Regions from separate parts of the Homo sapiens genome. Here region 2 is linked to region 1. The links are contacts of gene promoters, found by promoter capture Hi-C in human tissues and cell types (Jung and others, 2019). All regions are on one chromosome and are shown on one strand. The core of a region is centred on a gene start or on the middle of the fragment in contact, and the rest is flanking DNA. Distances in the headings are between cores, read along the strand shown.

Evidence for each region. The method cuts DNA at HindIII sites, captures the fragments that hold promoters and counts their contacts. A contact is called where the count stands out against the background at its distance.
Region 2: a contact is called between a fragment that was not itself captured here and the fragment with the promoter of RTKN2 in region 1, in 2 of the 25 tissues and cell types used here (IMR-90 fibroblasts and spleen).

What each region holds. Positions count from the first base shown.
Region 1 is chr10:62,267,507-62,270,167 of GRCh38, reverse strand. RTKN2 (rhotekin 2) reads left to right here and starts at 1,324. Exons shown (of 12, transcript NM_145307.4): 1 at 1,324-1,617. The coding sequence starts at 1,558. All of the region lies in intron 1 of LINC02621 (long intergenic non-protein coding RNA 2621), which reads right to left. RefSeq lists a silencer at 1,243-1,572. The HindIII fragment of the contact is 3,580 bases long and covers 734-2,661 here.
Region 2 is chr10:63,066,016-63,068,676 of GRCh38, reverse strand. No RefSeq gene overlaps it. Among named protein-coding and RNA genes, the nearest start is that of NRBF2, 66 kb to the left of the region's middle. The HindIII fragment of the contact is 7,418 bases long and covers 1-2,661 here.

The DNA of each region.
Region 1 (2,661 bases), core at 75-2,574:
GCTAGGCTCATGCAGCCTCATACTGAGTAGGAGATAATTATACCACAAAGTGGTAGCATAAGACAGAGATGTGCATTGGAGGAAAGGGCACATAATGATTCTGAAATTCAGACCTGTGTTTGTAGAAAACGAGGTGAGCTCCGTGTTGATAATTTTGAACACATATTTTATTGTTGTAAGGATATGGGTCATTCATAATGCAAGGGGACCATCATTCCCAACTGGGAAGCTTCTAGTATCACCTAGTCCAAAAGGTCTTAAAGAGGCATTTTACCTATTTGAGGAAGGGTATCCATTATATTTTTAAAGTACATTCTCAAACCAACTGCTTTTAAAAGGGTCTTGCAGTTAAAATGACCACATAATATCCACTACGGGATAAGTGCAAGATTGGTGCAACATTGGGACAACAGACCCAGACAGGGTCTGTCCCAGGCAAATGAAAAAACATGGGCACCTATTTATGGAGGAAAAATGCCCAAGGGTTTCTAGGCGATGAGGGCTGGAGGGTTGATTTGGTAGACTCTTCAAGAAGAGGCTTCCTCTTGCCTTTTCAAGGGGGAAATAAAGATAAACTAGGGACAATGAATTTTAAGGACTTTTCAAGGGTGTGATATCTTTGCTGCTTTCATTTTGATTTTTAAAAATCCCATGTTTCCCTTTATAATTAACAAAATCCATGAATTAAAATGGGTCTTTGTGCTAATCTTTAGGGCAGCAAGAAATGAGGCTCTTGAGAAATAGTACCCCATTTTGCTATCACCTTAGATGTTGGAGAGGGAAAGAGAGGGCGAGAGAGCTGAAAGAAATCCTTCGCAAGAAAACAAAGTAAGTGGACAGAGTAGTTGGCGGGGAACATCTGGGATTATAAACACTGGGGGCAAAGACAAGACCTTGTGAAATGCCTGACATAGTATCTCACGAACCTGATGAATAAAACCATGATATCTGGGTGACCCTGGTGACAACGCTGGGAAAGGTGAGAGGAAACAGAGAGCGCTGTGTTTGAGAGTAATGTTATTGGTTCTTTAGGAACGAGACCGTGGGCTCTTAGTGACGCTGTGGGTTCCTGAGTTGTCTGGGAGTACAGGGACTGCAGCCTCGAGTCTGTCCAGCTACGATCACTTTGGAAGGCCTTCGGTGGGATGCGGGCAGAAAGCTCCCAGTGCAAAGGGCGTGCCACGAAAACCACCAGCCAGAAACCTGAGCTGGGACAGGTGCGCTCCGCCGCCGAAGCTTTCCCCGCGGCCCCTCCCACTCCCGTCCCAGGCCCGCCCACATCCCTGTCCGGGACTTAAGTCCGGCACCGCCGCCCTCTCCCCCGCCCCGCCGCGCTAGAGCCTGGGGTCTCGGCAACTTCCGGCGGCGGGAGCTGCAGAGCGCAAGGCGCGCCCACTGCGCGTGCGCTTCGGCCCGGCTCCTCCTGCGCCCCCGGCCCCTGCGACTGGGACTTGGTACGGCCGGGCGGTTGGCGTCCTCTGCGGCTCCTGCCAGGGGCGGGCTTTTCAAATCTTCCCTTTGAAGGAGTGGCGACGGCCCGGACAGTTCGCGTTGGAGATGGAGGGGCCGAGCCTGAGGGGTCCTGCGCTCCGCCTGGCGGGGCTTCCCACCCAGCAGGTGAGTTGCGGGAGGGACCCTGCCGCGGAAGGTGAGGGAGCCGGGGTTCTGTTCCTCGCGCATTTGCTTTGTGGAGGAGTCGGGAAAGCCTCTCCCCCGCTCCTCTATTTCAGCGGTGGCCAGAAACAAAGGGAGGGATTAGGAGACTGCGCTCTTGGGGCTCTAAAGGGCCTGGACATCGGAACCCCCGAGTTTCTCAGGCAGCTGAGGTCCGGATTGGGAAGGCGGTGCCGGGGTCCAGGCGCGCGTTTGCGGGCGCACCTGTCCGCTGCCCTCCCCAGGCTTTGGACGCCTGTCTTTTTGCAGGTGTAGGTGATGCCGGGGAAATGGGAGCCCCTCGATTCCCAAGAAACCCAGCGAGGCCAGTGGACAGCTGGCTTATTACGGATTTAATGGGAAGCACAGTAATGGAGCGATGTCTACACACAACACAGAACTGGTTGGGGGGAGGGGGTTCGGAGCGGAGTAGAGGCAAACAGCAACCTCTGCACTTTAGAAAAAGTTGAAGGTTTGATACTGGGTTCTTTCTCAAATCATTTGAAAGGAAAGAGGGAGTACACGTGACATTGGATAGAAGTTTGATGTTTGCTTTTGAGCCATGTAAAATGCGTTAGAAACCTTTTTATTTTACTTTTTACTAAACCAACATTATTTCTTGGCAGCATCAGTTATTAAAATGTTACCACTTTTCACTCTTAACCATAACTTTAGGGTCTTAAAAGAAAACTCTGATGTCTTTAAGCTGGACCTTCACTTCTATTTTAATCTCTACCTTCTTTTACCTACTTCAGAAATAGGTTAAGCCATATGAAATTGCCAGTTTTGTAGGTCAAAATTGGTAGAATATTTGCAATTTCATTCATATGGAGGCACCTGATATCTTTGTTTAAAAATCTGGGATTTCCTTAGCAGACACAAAATTATTAGTTTTCAATAATACTGTGAAAAATAAAGCAAGACATTAAGATTCATTATGCAAAAGAAGTCCAGTGTCTTTATCAGTAATACTTATGCTGTTTTATGCCAGCATTTTCAAAAATTTCA
Region 2 (2,661 bases), core at 62-2,561, 800 kb before region 1:
GTGGCACACACCTGTAATCCCAGCTACTCAGGAGACTGAGGGAGGAGAATCTCTTGAACCCAGGGGATGGAGTGATCTCAGCATTGAGCTGAGATCGCATCACTGCGCTCCAGCCTGGGCGACAGAGCAAGACTCTGCCTCAAGAATAAAAACAAAAACAAAAGCAAACAACAAACCACATAACGTAACATTTACTCTCATAACCGTTTTTAAACTGTGCAGTTCAGCAGTGGGAGGTATATTCACATTGTTTCGCAACAAACCTCCAGAACTTTTTCATCATGCAAAACTGAAACTCTATACCCATTGAACAACACCTCCCATTTCCTCCTCCCCCAGCCCCTGGCAACCACATTCCATTTTCTTCTGTTTCTAGAAATTTGACTATTTTAGATGCCTCGTATAAATGGAATAACAATAGCTTTTAGGTAAAAACCATGATAGGAAAAACAAACCCCCATAGATAATGAATGGGCCCCTCTATCACTGCAAATAAAATTTTTGAAACCAAGAAAGGGAATTATGAGATCTGTGACATCAATAGACTTGATGGATCTCACATCTCCTCTGGTGGCCGTAAAGCAATTAAAAAACACAACTGTGGAAGTTGAGATACTTATATTTCCTCATAAAATTCACTTCTTGTGCTTAATCTGTTACTCTCAGTAGTGAAGTTTCAGAATCATCAATATGACAGTACAGCAATATTGCCTCATCAGTCATGATTTACTTAATGTTTTCTGAATTTAGTAATATTTGATTAAAATTTAATGCGAACATATCATATCATGCCATATATATTATTGCATCCATTAATCAGGTAACTATAGTAATGAAATGCCGGAAGGTTGGCTGAAAAAGGAGCCAGTCTTGATATATGTTTGACATAATTCTGTGAGTGATTAACCAAAAAAAAAAAGTCAGTCATTCAAAGGTTCATTAATATATATTACTTTTACAATCATCTATGTGTCATCAGATATTTTTAACCTTTGTTAAGCTTGATTTTTAATTTACTGAAAGACACTAAATATTAATAACCATGAAAAATATACATTATTCTGTTGAATCACAAGTTGACAGAATGATTCATAGTTTATTCTAATCTTTTTTGTATAATGATGTGTATTAAAACATTATCTAAGTTATTTAATCAGTTTGTCATGTGGGAAATAGCATATATTTAACATATGGCTGTGAAAGATACTAATTTAAATACCACATCATATTTCTATTATTTTCAACTTCCATGTCATTGGCCATAGCAGGTAATCAGTGTGATGGTGCACAATTTACGTCTGACACAGGCTGATTTTTGTATGCAAATGTTCTTTTTTTCCTATTAAAACACTGAATTAGTCATACCTTGTTTCTTTTAATATTGTCATTTTAATCAGCTAACTAATGAGGGACAACTGGTATTAAACACTTATCTGCCGTGTTCATCAAAATAGTTAAGAAGAGGCACATTTGGAGAAATAATTGAAAATAATAAAAAGTTGAGTCAACTGCAAGGCAGTTTAATTTTGACTTGATAGAGGAATGTTGATTATTTCACCACAATTATCCTCCTAGTTGTTCCCTCTTTTAGCTTCAGTTGAATTGTGCTTCATTCACTCATTCATTCATTAAATTTTTCATTGAACCCTTCTCATGACAGGCATTGTGCTAGGTTCTGGGATAGAGAAATGAAATGACATGGCTCCTGGTTTCTCTTAGCTTACAATCTAGTGATGATCAGACGCTTACACAAATGCAAGCAGAGATGAGCTCCAACATGGAGTCTGGGCAAAGCACAGTGAGGCACAGAGAGGAGTGTCAAAGTCAGCCTGAGAGTGACTGGAAAGACTCCGCAGGGGCTGACGCTGACTTGAATGGAGACTCGAAGTGTGAATAACAGTTTCCCAGACAGACAACTATGGAGGTGGGAGTATTGGTGACAGGTGAGGATGGTATTCTAGAAAGAACCAACAGCATATGCAAAGGCTCAGAGGCTTATAAAGCAAGTTCCGGAAGAAGAGAAATTCACTCCTATCTCTATCTAGTGGATATGTACTAAAAAGTGTGGTGTGATAGAGATGTCAAGATTGCCTCAGGGTGCTGCATGCTGAACTATGACTTCACTCCAAGCCCAAGGGTAAGGCTGTTGATGTTTGACCTGCCATGGAGAGGAGTGGTTTTCTAACTGGAGGCTTATAGGAGAAGACAAGGATGGGGAGAACGGGTCGGGGTGATGCACAGGTGGCTCCTACTGTAACAAATGCCTGAACCATGCCTTGGAGAATTATATCTTCTTGTCAAACACTCCCCAGAACTAACCAAAAATAATTAGCTTCAATTTTTCCCATAAATTTTCAAACATAATATTGTAGACTGAATCAGGAAGCCTAGGTATACCGTACTTTGAAGCTATATTCATATTAGTGGGGAAAGCATCATAAGAAAGTAGACATTAAGAAGGGATTTGAAGAAAACGGGCAATTGGACTCAGGGTGTTGGAAATGGAATAATTTCTATGATAAGATTGTTGCAGGATTTGAAGGTAATGAAGTTAGGACAAAAGGAAAGTGATACCCGGAAGGAAAGATCAAACCTGCCTGTCATATGTATCCGAAATGCTTGACCCTGTTCTTGGGTGTGGGAAGTTGCTCCCAGTTGGAA